Linked DNA regions of Homo sapiens: regions 1, 3 and 4 are each linked to region 2. The links are contacts of gene promoters, found by promoter capture Hi-C in human tissues and cell types (Jung and others, 2019). All regions are on one chromosome and are shown on one strand. The core of a region is centred on a gene start or on the middle of the fragment in contact, and the rest is flanking DNA. Distances in the headings are between cores, read along the strand shown. Region 1 overlaps CFAP97D1 (CFAP97 domain containing 1). Region 2 holds the start of ARL4D (ARF like GTPase 4D). Region 3 has its middle 27 kb from the start of SOST. Region 4 holds the start of MEOX1 (mesenchyme homeobox 1).

Region 1 (3,602 bases), core at 414-2,913, 390 kb after region 2:
TGAGCAACTACTATGTGCTAGGTACCAGGAATAATAAAGATGAAATGAGATGTATATTTCCTTACCTCAAAGAACTCAAGGTCTTGTAGGGGAGATATTTATGGAAATAATGACAATGCAGTGTGATTAGGGATACAAAAGAAGCTCATGCAAGAGAAAGAATTTGCTGGGGGCGAGGAGATGGTCAAGATGCCATTCTATATCCTGGTATATTCTGGTATAAGTTGAAAGCTGAGAGGAGTGAGGTGACCCAAAACTTGTCGCCAGCCGTTTGTGATTTATTCACAGGGAGACCTTCCCCCAACCAGAAGTTCTCAATCCTGGTTTTACATTATAATCCTTGGGGAATTTTAAGAAAATGCCAGTGTGCACGGTTCACCTCAGATCAATGAAGTAGAATCTTCTCATGGGCAACAGGGTTGAGGACCACTGATATAAACCTGCGAATGCGGTGCATGTTTCCCGGAGTGCAGTGCAGACCAACAGGCTGTCCCAGGGGCCTGTGGGCTCAGCAGGACAGTTTACTCCCTGCACTTAGACAGTCTGGCATTTATGATCTCATGACTTCATCTCCCCCACTCGTCAAGATGAGCATTTCCTTCTTCACCCATTTCGGGGTTTTGTGTTTTTCAGCTTAAACAGAGAAACAAGGAACCGCGAGCTAGTGAGAATCACCATGGAAAACCAGGGCATTCTGAAGAGGCTTGTTGATCGCAAACCCCACTATGACCGCAGGGCATCTGAGATAGACTGGCAGGCACGTGGGCACTCATGTTATACTCCCAGACACACACAGAGTTTGTCGGTGTTCAGCCTAGAGAGAGTCTCAGAAAAATCCCTGAACAGCTAGAGTCAGATCACATGAAATGTAACAATCGTTAAAAGAAAAACCATCCAAAGCAAACAAAGCTAACAGGCACAAACCATCAAACAAACAGCTAAAACAGCTTGGTAGCAAAGCCATTATGTGTCAGTTTCATAACATAACAATTATGTGTCAGTTTCAGAAAAATAATCTAGTAGCGTCTTCCCTCACCCCTTAATTCATTAAGAAAGGCTGAATGTACAGGGATGAAGGGTATAAGATTCAGTCAGTATGCGGTTGGTTTGCTTCATTTAGGAATGACCCTTAAAAAGGCCAGGGGAGGGGAAACCATCTGTGGTGTTTTAAAAAACCTCCACTTACCGACTTTGGTCTTTAAATCTTTTCTAAGTCATCCCTGGGATTTAGAACTTCAGTAATAGCACCAATGCCCTGGCATTGACATAAACCAATTTTTTTCCTTCAAGAATTCAAGGCGCTATATCAGAAATACCACGAGATATCTTCTCTCCCAAAATGAATAGGTATGTCTCTCTTACTATCAAACACTGTGACCACAGCTGATACCAAAGCCCTGAGAACCCCATAAATGGCGAATGAGGGGCCCAGTTAAGGAGACGGATTTTGCTCTTCTCATATAATATTGACTAGTCTTCCATTCGGGAAACTTGGGGCTCTCTGACTTTATTTCTTCTCTCCATACAAGAAGGAAATGACATTGTCTTTTGTCATCATCTTTGAGGCTTTGTGGGAGTCTGAGGGGAAGTGATTTGTTCCAATAAGACATAAACTGGAAGACCTGTGGCTTTAAAATTGTGCCAAAGTTACATTCCAGGTCTCTGTCAGTATTCAAAAGTACCAGCATGTTGTCATTTTGTATTATTTAACATTATTAGTGATGACTAAGTGGTTTCCCCCACCCAAGGGAGAAAGATAAATGGACACTTAGGCGTTCCAAAGAATAGTTCTGTATAATTGATGTGTCTCCTTCTCTCTTCTCCACTGAATACAAGGTTACTCACCATGGAAAAGATACAAGAGAAGGCCCTAGGATTTCTTGGCTGCTCAGGATCTCAAGACACTCCCGACTGGCTGAATGCTCCATCTTCAGATGCTTCAATAAAGCTTGGAACATAAAATGCGTAAGTTACATTTAGGGGACCCAAAGGCTTTATGTTCTCATTCCAAAATGGGGCAGGCAGAAGGAAAGATGCAATGAGCATTTTTATTTGGGGCTATGAAAAGAAGTTTTAACGAGAGAGAGAGAGAGAAATCTGAGAGAACTCTTTAAAACATACACCATCATCACCATCCCGTGGAAGAAGAAAAGCTGGGGTGAGATCATCCAGCCACAAGTACAGCACTGTCAAAATGGAAAACGAAATCACATGACAACATCAAGGTTCAGAAAACACAAGGAACAAATGCCATTAGTTCCTCTGTGAATACACACGATCGGAAAAGAATGCCTCATTGAAGTTTCCATGGACTCTGTTCATTTATAGGGAGCAGCAGCAGTGAAAATGTCTCAAAACATACGGTGAGACAATGTTGCAGGCCTGCTATGATTGGTCATGCTAGTTTTCAGCCCAACTATATTAGTCAGCATTTGCCAAAGAGACAGACTCAATAGGAGAGAGAGAGAGAGAGAGAGAGTGAGAGAGATAGATAGAGAGTGAGAGAGAGAGAGAAAGAGAGAGAGAGAGGAGAGGATTTATTTGGGGAATTGGCTCACAAGATCATGGAAGCTAAAGAAGTCCCACCACAGGCCATCTGCAAGCTGGAGACCCTGGTGGAGCAGGGCAGACAACCCCCAAAGTGGGGCTTAGCCTGCGAGTGTTCTTGGCTTCACCCAGGAAAGAATTTAAGGGTGAGCCAGTGGTAGGGTAGAAGAAGACAGTTTTATTGAAGCAGCAGTGTTACAGCTCCATGACTGCTCCTGCAGTACAGGGCTACCCCAAAGGCAGAGAGTTTTGCAGTCATAGTTATACGTACTTTTAATTACATGTAGATTAAGGGGCGGTTTGTGCAGAAATTCTAGGGAAGGAGTAGTAATTTTTTTTTTTTTTTTTGAGATGAAATCTCACTCTGTCGCCCAGGCTGGAGTGCAGATGGCGCGATCTCAGCTCACTGCAACCTCCGCCTCCTGGGTTCAAGCGATTCTCCTGCCTCAGCCTCCCAAGTAGCTGAGACTACAGGCACTCGCCACCACGCCCAGCTAATTTTTGTATTTTTAGTAGAGACGAGGTTTCACCATCTTGGCCAGGCTGGTCTTGAACTCCTGACCTCGTGATCCGCCCGCCTCGGCCTCTCAAAGTGCTGGGATTACAGGCGTGAGCCACCATGTCCGGCCTATAGGAAAGGGTAGTAATTTTTGGGTCCTTGGGTCATTGCCCTGGAAAGGGGTGGTAACTCCTAGGTGTTGCTACGGTAATGGTAAACTGACATGGCACACTAGTGGGAGTGTCTTATGGAAAGCTGCTTCCACCCCTTTCCTGTTTTAGCTAGTCCTCAATTGGATCCTGTGTCCAAGCCCCGCCTCTGGAGTCAAGGCCTGCCTCCCACCTCACTGGGATGCTGGTAGCATGGCTTGGTCCAAGCCCAAAAACCTCAGAACCAAGAAGAAGGTGGTGTAACTCTCAGTTCGAGGCCAAAGGCTGAGAACCCACTAGGGGGGACAAGGGTGCTGGTGTGAGTCTTGGAGTACAAAGGCCAAGGAGCCTAGAGTTGTTGTCCCAGGACAGGAGAGGAAGAGTGTATTCCAGTTCCAGCAGATAGA
Region 2 (3,458 bases), core at 341-2,840:
TAATTGCTGTTGTCCTTTTGGTCACACTGCCCTTTGTGACATCTCCTTCCTTTCAGGGCTGCCCAGACTGTAGCAGGCTGCAGTGGCTGGGGAGACCCTACTCATTCCTGTGCCCCTCCTAACCAGTCCTAGATAGGGCTAAAGAACGTCTATAAACCTTTTCAGAAGCTTCCAGTTGACACATTCTCTCTCTTCTCTGAAATCCTACAAGTGCTATCTCATGATTTACAAAGACCCAATACATGTGCTGTCTCATTCTGTCATTGCCAGTCTTAAGTCTTAAGCCCTTTGAGGCCTGATTCTACAGCCGAGACATCCTCTATTTCTCCACCATCTCTCTGTCTCATTCAGAGCACACAGTATGAATGAGGTCAATAAACACAGTGTTTTTTGTTTTGTTTTGTTTTGTTTTTGTTTTTTTTGAGACAGAGTCTTGCTCTGTTGCCCAGGCTGGAGTGCAATGGTGTGATCTCAGCTCACTGCAACCTCCGCCTCCCGGGTTCAAGTGATTCTCCTGCCTCAGCCTCCCGAATAGTTGCAATTACAGGCGCCCGCCACCACACCCAGCTAATTTTTGTATTTTTAGTAGAGACGGGGTTTCACCATGTTGGCCAGGCTGGTCTCGAACTCCTGACCTCAGGTGCTTCGCCCACATCGGCCTCCCAAAATGCTGGTATTACAGGCGTGAGCTACCGTGCCCAGCCCAATAAACACACTGGTTTTTTTTTTTTGTTTGCTTTGTTTTGAGACAGAGTCTTGCTCTGTCGCCCAGGCTGGAATGCAGTGGCGCTATCTCAGCTTACTGCAACCTCCGCCTCCCGGGTTCAAGCGATTCTCCTGCCTCAGCCTCCCGAGTAGCTGGGATTACAGGCACCCGCCACCACGCCCGGCTAATTTTTGTCTTTTTATTACTGATGGGGTTTCACCCTGTTGTCCAGGCTGGTGGAACTCCTGAGCTTAAGTGATGTGCCTGCCTCAGCCTCCCAAAGTGCTGAGTTTACAGGTATGATCCACTGCGCCTAAACATACTGTTGAGTGTAACCTCAAATAGGTCATTTAACCCTTCAGGGCTTTGTGTATCTGTAAAAGGCAGACAACAGTCCCTAACAGGCTATTGCAGATAATGGGCTTAGCACTATGAAGCAGCTGTTTTATGGGGCTCCAGGTTCACCTTAGGTTTGACAATTGAATTATGAAAGATAAAGGAGAAAGACTTGTCAGCCTCTCCGAGTAGATCCTTTGGCCGAAGGAGTGTCCATGTGGGGTGGTATCTCGGCCTGGTGGAGGGGGATGCGATGGTAGTGAGAATATTAGGGTATTCATATCTTTCCTCCCGAGTCAAACGTTGCCAGGCACGTTCCTTTCGCCCCTCCCACCCTCCATTCTGCATTAATTCCAAGTTTAATTCCAAATATTAGAGTGTGGTAGAAAAGGTCAAATAGAGCAGCCACGGATTAAGCAAACGCCCCTCCGCGTATGGTGGGGGCTGCAGCGCCCGTAGCTCCACGCTCCGCCCCGCCGCCGCTGATTGTCCCGCGCCTTGTGACGTCACACGCGGGTTTTTAAGGCCGAACCCTAGGCAGGCTCTGCAGAGGCAGCGGTTGGAGGCGCGGTGGGTGTCTGCGGGGGTCTCGCGGGGCGGCTGCGGTGTTTCACCGGGAAAGGCTCGAGGAGAGCGCGGCTCACGAGAGGTAAACGGACCCTGCAGACCGTGCTGAGGCGGTCCCGGTGCCGGGCCGCTGGAGCTGGGGTCGGCCATCGGAGGAGGGCGGGCGGGCAGGAGAGTGTCGCGGGGCGGTGGGGCGAGGGTCGCGGAGTAAGGAAGGGCACCGTGTCAACGGCTTGGGGCTGCGGAGGGCGGGTGGGAGCCGGACTCAATCTCCGGTCTCAGCGTCTGCACCCTAGCTCTTAGTTTGGGGGCACTGTCGACTTCCCCCGTCCCTCGGGGATCTTGCCTGGGGGATGGCGCCATAAGCTCTGAGAAGAGGCTCTAGAAGCCCACTGTCCATGGATCGAGCCCTCACCCCCCACTTGAGTGGCCCAGGACCTGGGAGTCTCTCTAGGTCCCATCGCCCCCCTCACGACCCCCCCAGGGAGTGGGGGAACACCTCTGTTATGCCTTAAAAAAAAAAAAAAAAAGGAAAGGAATTTTAAAAATGAAGGATGGGAGGGTGATTTAGGAAGGGATCAAGAAGTTGCAAATCTTGTGTGTATTATTAAACGTCTCCTTTTTCTCCCATGACCTTTTCTTGGTTCAGATAACCCAGCTGTGCTCCCTGGAACCTTCAATTTCAAGGCCTCCCTGCCTCTACTAGGCGCCTTAGCTCACTATGGGGAACCACTTGACTGAGATGGCGCCCACTGCCTCCTCCTTCTTGCCCCACTTCCAAGCCCTGCATGTCGTGGTCATTGGGCTGGACTCTGCTGGAAAGACCTCCCTCCTTTACCGCCTCAAGTTCAAGGAGTTTGTCCAGAGTGTCCCCACCAAAGGCTTCAACACCGAGAAGATCCGGGTGCCCCTCGGGGGATCGCGTGGCATCACCTTCCAAGTGTGGGACGTCGGGGGGCAGGAGAAGCTGCGACCACTGTGGCGCTCTTATACCCGCCGGACAGACGGTCTAGTGTTTGTGGTGGACGCTGCGGAGGCTGAGCGGCTGGAGGAAGCCAAGGTGGAGTTGCACCGAATCAGCCGGGCCTCGGACAACCAGGGCGTGCCAGTGCTGGTGCTGGCCAACAAGCAGGACCAGCCCGGGGCACTGAGCGCTGCTGAGGTGGAGAAGAGGCTGGCAGTCCGAGAGCTAGCAGCCGCCACTCTCACTCATGTGCAAGGCTGCAGCGCTGTGGACGGTCTGGGCCTGCAGCAGGGCCTTGAGCGCCTCTATGAGATGATCCTCAAGAGGAAGAAGGCAGCTCGGGGTGGCAAGAAGAGACGGTGACCCAAGCCCCCCCTCCCTTTCCTCCCACCTAGTAGGGGTCTGCACACTTGGACAGCAGGGTGGGACCAGCCTGTGACCTCTCAGTCAGACTGGGGTGCAGGACCTGTCCACCTCAATGAAGGAGAGAGGAGCATGGGGTGTCCCGTTTTGGTGCCACACTGGGGTGGGGATGGGAGATGGGATGTCTTTGCATATCTCTCTCATCCTCTCTGGAGAAGTGGGCGCTGCAGGACTGTGGAGACGTAAATGTAAACTGTGACTCTACCTCGACCCTGTTTCTTATTTTTCTTCTCTGGCTAAAAATTTTTAATTGGATGTGTTTGGGGGCGGGGGGATGGAAGTGACTTGGAGAATGTGTTTGGGATGAAATAACTATCTCCCCTTCCTCTGTCCCCCAACTGGGGAGTCTCCCCAGGCTGCTTTTCTAGGAATACCAGTCACATAGTTTTTATTTTTGTGTCTGTGAAAGTGCCAAGAACCCCTCCCCACATTTGTAGATCCATGACCCTTTTTATAAGCTGT
Region 3 (3,667 bases), core at 965-3,464, 330 kb after region 2:
CTCGGATCCGCAAAAGGCGAGGATATGTGGTCTCTCCAGATAGGAGCACAGCCCTGCTGGAACCTGGATTTTAGCCCCATGAGACCCATCTTACACTTGTGACCTTTAGAGCTGTAAGGTCATAAATTTGTGTTGCTTTAAGGCTCTAAGTTTGTGGTAATTTGTTGCAGCAGCCATAGAAAACTAGTAGAAGGAAGAAAAGGAGCATTAAGAGAGATTTCCCACTTTGCTTTGAAAAGTGGCTAGAAATAGATGGGGAAACGGGGAGAAGATGGCCCAGAGCGGAACGGGGGAGAAAGTCTTCTTCTATGACTAAGGAAGAGTGAGGCTTCTAAACGGCCCTCAGGAAAGTGTTTGTGCCATGATGCTTTTCAGGAGAGAGTAGAGATCAATTGATCTCTGTGCTGTGTTCTTACATGAAATATTTGGGAGGGAAGTGTTGTGGTGAGTCACTTGTATTTTTTTTTAAATACCTGCCACTCCCAGTTTTCCAGATAGCTGAGGAAAGGCTGGGGTTCAAATCCCATAAAAAACCAACATCATTCAATTGGTACATTCTCTAAAATGTACATAAGACATCTAGGAGGACTTCATAATGATTAAGAGCAATCAACTGCTAATGCAGTGAGTGCTTATTTTTTCCAGGCACTGTACCAGGCATGCTGCTTCATTTAAATTTTGCAGGGACTTTTGAAGTAGGTCCTACCTTGATTTCCATTTTGCAAGTGAAAAGCATCACATTGAGATGTGGCCCTTCAGCCTTAGCCCTTTGATATGGTTTGGCTCTGTGTCTGCACCCAAATCTCATTTTGAATTGTGCTGCCATAATTCCCATGTGTTGTGGGAGGGACCTGGTGGGAGATAATTGAATCGTGGGGGCAGTTTCCCCCATACTGTTCTCGTGATAGTGAATAAGTCTCACGAGATCTTATGGTTTTATCAGGGGTTTCCACTTTAGCGTCTTCCTCATTCTCACTTTGCCTGCTGCCATCCATGTAAGACGGGACTTGCTCCTCCTTGCTTTCTGCCATGATTATGAGGCTTCCCTAATCACATGGAACTGTAAGTCCAATTAAACCTCTTTCTTTTGTAAATTGCCCAATGTCAGGTATGTCTTTATTAGCAGTGTGAAAATGGACTAATAGACCCTTCTTCCTCCTTGCTAAAATACTTTTTTGATGGTGATCATGAATTGGCCTTTGCGTGCAGTGAGTTTTGACTGGTCTGCCAATGCCTTTCCTTTCCAGCTATGAATGGTTTTAAAAAATATCAATGACAAGGCCCCACCTCATAACCATTAAATGCAAAACTCTGGTAGGGGCCCAGGTGTTTCTTTTCTTTTCTTTTCTTTTCTTTTTTTTTTTTTTTTGAGACGGAGTCTCTCTCTGTCGCCAGGGTGGAGTGCAGTGGCACAATCTCAGCTCACTGCAACCTCCACCTCCCAGGTTCAAGAGATTCTCCTGCTTCAGCCTCCCAAGTAGCTGGGACTACAGGTGCGTACCACCACGCCTGGCTAATTTTCTGTATTTTTAGTAGAGATGGAGTTTCACCTTGTTAGCCAGGATGGTCTCAATCTCCTGACCTCATTATCCTCCCACCTCCGCCTCCCAAAGTGCTGGGATTACAGGTGTGAGCCACTGTGCCCAGCTGGGCCCAGGTGTTTCTTAAAAGCTCTCAGGTGATTCTAATGTTGCAGCCAGGGATGAGACCATTTGTCTAAGGCAATCTGGATAACTCCTTTCCCATTAGCCAGGGATTAGCCTGTGAACTATTCTGACCAAGGAGGCATGAACTTTTCTGTTTCTGGATGTTGTCATCTGCAAATAACAGGAAGGAACCTAGGATCTGAAGATGCTGCTGAGCTGCCTGAGTAGCTCACCTGGATCCACCCTATTTCTAGACTTCTTGTTATATGGTGAATAAATGTCCTCCTGGTTTAAGACAAGGGTTGGCAAACTATGACCCAGGAGCCAAGTCTGGCCCACTGCTTGATTTTGTAAATAAAGTTTTATTGGAATACAGCCATGCCCATTTGTTTATGTATTGTCTACATATTGTTTAGTGCTACAATGGCAGGGATGCATAGTCACGACAGAGACCTTATGGCCTGCAAAGCCTCAAATATTTACTCTCTGGCCCTTGGCCCTTTGCAGAAAAAGTTTGCCAGCTCCTGGTCTAAGGGTCTTTTTGTGGGCCTTTCTATTACTTGCAGTTGAGGGTATCTGTTAATTTGGGAGTTTAGCTTCCCCAAGGTGGCATTGTTAGTGATGGCAAGTTTTGCCCCCTTTAAGCCATTTTTTCATGGGAGAATAATTACAGAATGATCTTTAAGGGATTTCAATAATATCAGCCAATCCTACTGCCCACGGGGAAGTGGGATCACACAGGTTGGGGCTTCAGATAGGCCTGGATTTATGGCCTGGTTTTATCATATAGATCCAATTGTCTTTGAAAAGTGACTTCATCTTCTAGTCCTCAACTTTCTCATCTAAAATGAGGACAGTTATATCTACACGAAGGATGGGTACCCTCATGGAGGCAATTCCAGACAAAGGGATCAGTGCAAGCAAAGGAAGCGAGGTGAAAAATCTCCAGGTCCACATGGAGAGCCGCAAGCTGCTCTGCCTGACCTAAGCCAAGAGCATAGAAAAGGGGTCATGGGGCACACTGTGGTGAAGATAGGCTGGCATTTGTTGCATAATAATTTCTCCAGTTGTCTTGGGTTTCTGAGAGGTAGCTTCTAAACCCTTGGAATTTCCCAAGTGATAGGAATGTCTTTGTTATTCATAGTGAGCCACTGGGACCATGCCTGAGTTTATACTAACAAGGTGACTCATGGTGGGCCCCTAGATAGTTTCAAGATGGGGACTAGCCATTAGGAACCAACCAAATGATTAGAGGGTTGGGGTTTTGAGCCAGATTATATCAGCCTGACTTCCAGGGAGGTTAGAGATTGAGTTCAATCACATGGCCAATTATTTGATCAATCATGCCTCGTGATGAAACACCAATAAAAACTCTGGACCTCAAGGCTCAATTGAGCCTCCTGGTGGGTGAACACCAGTGTGCTAGGAGGGTGATACATCCTGACTCCATGGGGAGAAGATATGGAAGCTCTGTGTTTGGGATCCTCCCAGACCTCACCCTATGGATCTCTTCATTTGGCTGGTCCTGATTTGTACCCTTTATAATAAAAGTGTAATGGTAAGTATAGCACTTTGCTGAGTTATGTGAGTCATTGTAGCAAATTGTCAAATATGAGGGGTTGTGGGAACCCCCAAATTTGTAGCCAGTTGATCAGAAATGCAGGTAGCCTGGGGACCCCATATTATGTGGGGTCTCTGAAGTGAGGGCAGTCTTGTTGAAGACTATGTCCTTAACCTGTGGAGTCTGTACTAACTCCAGCTCCAGGTAGTTGACACTGCAAAAGTATATACTGCTGTATTGCAGAGCTGGATTCATGAATGCCTGTTTCCAGACTTGGATTTAATTTGGTTGGTGGTGGGGAGCCATAGAAGGTTTATGAGAAGATGAATGACAGGATCACTAACTGAGATTCTGGAAGAATAATTGGGCAGAGATAAAGGCTATCTAGAGCTCTCCCTGAGTCACAGGATCTTTTGGTCATGCACTCTCAACTTTGACATGTGATGCTGGTCACCAAAGA
Region 4 (3,289 bases), core at 248-2,747, 260 kb after region 2:
CTGTCCCCTTGGCCTGGACATGGCCCAGCTCCGCAGGGTGATATCTGGTGGGCAGTCTGCCCCAAACCTCAGCCCTCCATCTCCCCCTCACCCCTTGATTCTCCCATCCCAGCCGCAGGCCTGCTTCTCTGCCTCTAGGCTCCTGGACACATAGGGTCTTGGCTTTGGGTGGCCACCCAGGGTCCCAGCTTCAGTCTTAGCTCTCAGAGCCTTAACCTCAGCTGAACTTCCCTGGTAAGCGAGCCCTGTGGCTCTAGGACCACTTGGGGCTGGCCAAAGCATGGTGGGGAGGAGGATGACTCAATGGCAGCCTGATTCAGGAAAGCCCCTCACCAGCCCTCGCCAGTCTGCACCCAGAGGATCCATTTCACGTGTCCTCCAAATCCTGGCTGATCCTGTTTCATTCTCTTGCTGGACACCCTTTCTGGGGCCCAGGAGTGCTGGGACACAGACATGGTCCCCATCACCAGAGAATCCTAGAACTCTCAGTGGAAGAAACCCCAAAGGTAACTGGTCCAGTCTCCTGCATTTGGATGGACTAGACAGAAATTCATGCTCAGAGCACCTAGGCACAGAGAGGGTGAGTAACTTCCCCAGGGTCACACAGTAAAGGAATGATCAGCTGCTCCTGAGCCACCTACCTGAACTCTCCTTTCTCCGCCTGGATGATTTCTTCTCTGTCTCATTGGCAGTGCTCCCAAGCACCCCGTAGTCATCGCCTGGGCCTCCTGTGGTGTCCACCAGGCCCAGGCTGCTGGTCCCCATTTCCTTGGAACCCCCTGCCGGGCCTGAGTTGGGCCTGCGCCGGGCGTCTGAGACAGGGAAGTGCCAGTTGGGGGACTGTGGGAAAGCGGGGTGCTGCTCAGTGAAGATGTGCTCCTCCTGGGGCAGGCTGTGTGGGGTGGCTGCCAGGCAGGAGGCTGAGAAGTCAGGGTACGCTGCCGTCGCTGTCGCCAGGAAGTCTGGTTTCTGGTGGAAGGAGAACGGGGTGGGCGGGTAGTGGGGTAGCCCTGAGGCCCCATTGCCTTCCGAGTGGGGGTTTCGAAGGCAGCCCCAGACAGGGGCTGGGGGCTGGAGGCTCCTCATGCAGCTGCTGGCCGCGGGATCCATCTGCTGTCCGCTGCACGCCTCGGTCCTTTCAAAGATTTGATTCTTTATACTTTTTATGTTCAAATTTTTAAAAATGCAAAAGAAAAAAAACTAAATAGGAGGGAAAAATGTTCAACAGAAAATTTACCCCAGGAACCAAAAAAAAAAAAAAACCCAAAACTAAAGTCTCTCCTTAAAGTACACACACATGTGGCCAGCTACTCCTATGTGTGTGCACACACCTATGTCGGGCTTGCTCCTGCCCCTCCAATGCACCAGCCTACCTACTGGGATCCCCTGTATGTGTATTTGTCGCCAATGACACTAAACATTTTCACTGTCCCAACCCAGACGCACCAGCTGACGAGGAGTTCGTCCTGGAGCCCAGAGCAAATGCCTGCAGAGGGCTGGACCAGGGCTGCTGGGACACACTTTTAAATCCTGCGGTGGGGAGAGAGTGACAAATTTCTGAAGTGAAATGTGAGAGAGGAGAGGGAGGGGTTAACCCACACACACAAGATCCCCTCCAACCAAAACCCTAGCAGGCAACTATTAATCATCAGAAACCTTATATGCACATCTAATGGGATTTGCAGATGGAGACTTTTAAAGAAACATTGTCTGTATTTTTTTTTTAAGGAAAGAGAGCAGCACACACACACATACACACACACCGTCTTTAATGTGCCTCCTGTAACACTATGAAGTTATTTTTATTGCACTGTTAACAAAATTCCCCAAGTCTTGGATTTAGAAAAAGCCTTAAGTCAGATCCAGAATCCATCAAATGCCAAATTCCAGGGAGTGAAGTGAGGAATAAGAGCAAGAGACAAGCTTGGTGATTGCATTTGATTTAAAGGCCCTTCTACTGCTGCCTGCGAAAAAGGAAGGTGGATTAAAAGAAATCTTTTTTGCAAGTCTCAGCGGCCCACTGTGGTCTGCAGTACAAAGAAAGGCACACTCTAGAAAAAAAGAATTTCTCTCTGCCCAGAGTGACATTCTCACTTTCTCAGTAACTTAAAAAAACAATCAGATTCTTCCTTCCGCTCTTTAACCTCCAACATACATGCCAATTAGCCACACTCTTCTCTAGAGAGGTTTCAAGTCATTTTTCTTCACAGCAATGGCAAGGCTCTTAAATAAGGTCCTTGAAGTTTCTTCGGGTCTCCTCCCACCTGCTCCCTGCCCCCTTCACCTCCACCCACCTGCTTCCCTTTCTCATCCCCCAGAGGCGGAGGCTTCCGAGGAATTTGGGGTAGGGAAATAGGAATCAGGGGCTCCTCATTCCCCAAAGGAGCCTCTTTGGCAAGCAGGCACGTGGGTCTCCGGGCTGGTGCACATCACAGGGCAGCCAGCCCAAGTGCCATCTTGATGCCCAGTCTTCCTCATGGCTGCGCCCTGCTGGTCTCTCAGAGGGTTAATGCAATTTCTTGGAGGACGACATTCCTAACACCCAGGGGCCAGAACTCCTTCCCCACTGGTTATTCCCATGGCCCAGAGCAGCAGGATGGGGGCAGAAACAGGCATGGACCTTAACAGCAGCGTCTCTGCTGGCTGCTTCCAAAGACGGCGAGGGTTCCCTGAGGAGGGGCCCCTAGGTCTTAGCTCTGCAGCCTGGAGGTGGGGCCCTGGGGGGTGGGTGCAGGAGATGCTCCTAGGAGGAGCCGAAGGGCACCCAGGGATGTGGAATGAAGCCACGACTGGCCTTTAATCCAGAAACTCCAGTCAGATACACATCCTGGGAGCAGGAGCAGCTGTAAAAGATGGGGAGGGGTGTACATATGAAAAGATGTGCCCTCTTCTGGAACAAGCGGTCAGAGTGTTGTAGACCAGTAGAGTGGATGGGGTCATAGCTGTCAACCAGACTCATCTTTCTGCTTTGCCCAGGGCTTAGCTGTGGCACACACAATTCTCTGAGCCTCACAACTTTCCTAGGATGGGTAAGTAAGAATTATGTCTCCATTTTGCAGATGACAAAACCGAGGCTCAGATGGATGACTGGGCTGCCCAGACTCACACAGCTAAGAAATGGTGGAATCAGCACTTGGCCTCAGGTGTCCTGCTGTTCAGTTTGGAGCAGGCCAGATGCAGAGGAGGAGGCATGGGGTTTGAGGTTAGACGGGTCTGAGTTCAAGCCCCAGGTCTGCCACTTCCTGGCTGTGTGCCCTGGAACAAGTCACCTTATCTCTCTGAACTTCTT

What was found. Contacts are between HindIII fragments. The study calls those that stand out against the background at their distance.
Region 1: a fragment that was not itself captured here is called in contact with the fragment with the promoter of ARL4D in region 2 in 1 of the 25 tissues and cell types used here (adrenal gland).
Region 3: a contact is called between a fragment that was not itself captured here and the fragment with the promoter of ARL4D in region 2, in 1 of the 25 tissues and cell types used here (H1 embryonic stem cells).
Region 4: a contact is called between the fragment with the promoter of MEOX1 here and the fragment with the promoter of ARL4D in region 2, in 2 of the 25 tissues and cell types used here (IMR-90 fibroblasts and aorta).

The regions. Positions count from the first base shown.
Region 1 is chr17:43,782,547-43,786,148 of GRCh38, forward strand. CFAP97D1 (CFAP97 domain containing 1) reads left to right here. Exons shown (of 6, transcript NM_001136483.3): 4 at 634-757; 5 at 1,291-1,347; 6 at 1,837-3,602. The coding sequence ends at 1,347. Among named protein-coding and RNA genes, the nearest start is that of CFAP97D1, 3.9 kb to the left of the region's middle. The HindIII fragment of the contact is 3,683 bases long and covers 1-3,505 here.
Region 2 is chr17:43,397,403-43,400,860 of GRCh38, forward strand. ARL4D (ARF like GTPase 4D) reads left to right here and starts at 1,591. Exons shown (of 2, transcript NM_001661.4): 1 at 1,591-1,691; 2 at 2,259-3,458. The coding sequence starts at 2,331. The coding sequence ends at 2,936. RefSeq lists an enhancer at 1,715-2,218. The HindIII fragment of the contact is 9,238 bases long and covers 1-3,458 here.
Region 3 is chr17:43,730,390-43,734,056 of GRCh38, forward strand. No RefSeq gene overlaps it. Among named protein-coding and RNA genes, the nearest start is that of SOST, 27 kb to the right of the region's middle. The HindIII fragment of the contact is 6,631 bases long and covers 1-3,667 here.
Region 4 is chr17:43,660,425-43,663,713 of GRCh38, forward strand. It overlaps MEOX1 (mesenchyme homeobox 1), which reads right to left and starts at 1,498. Exons shown (of 3, transcript NM_004527.4): 1 at 642-1,498. The coding sequence starts at 1,110. RefSeq lists an enhancer at 251-792. The HindIII fragment of the contact is 25,285 bases long and covers 1-3,289 here.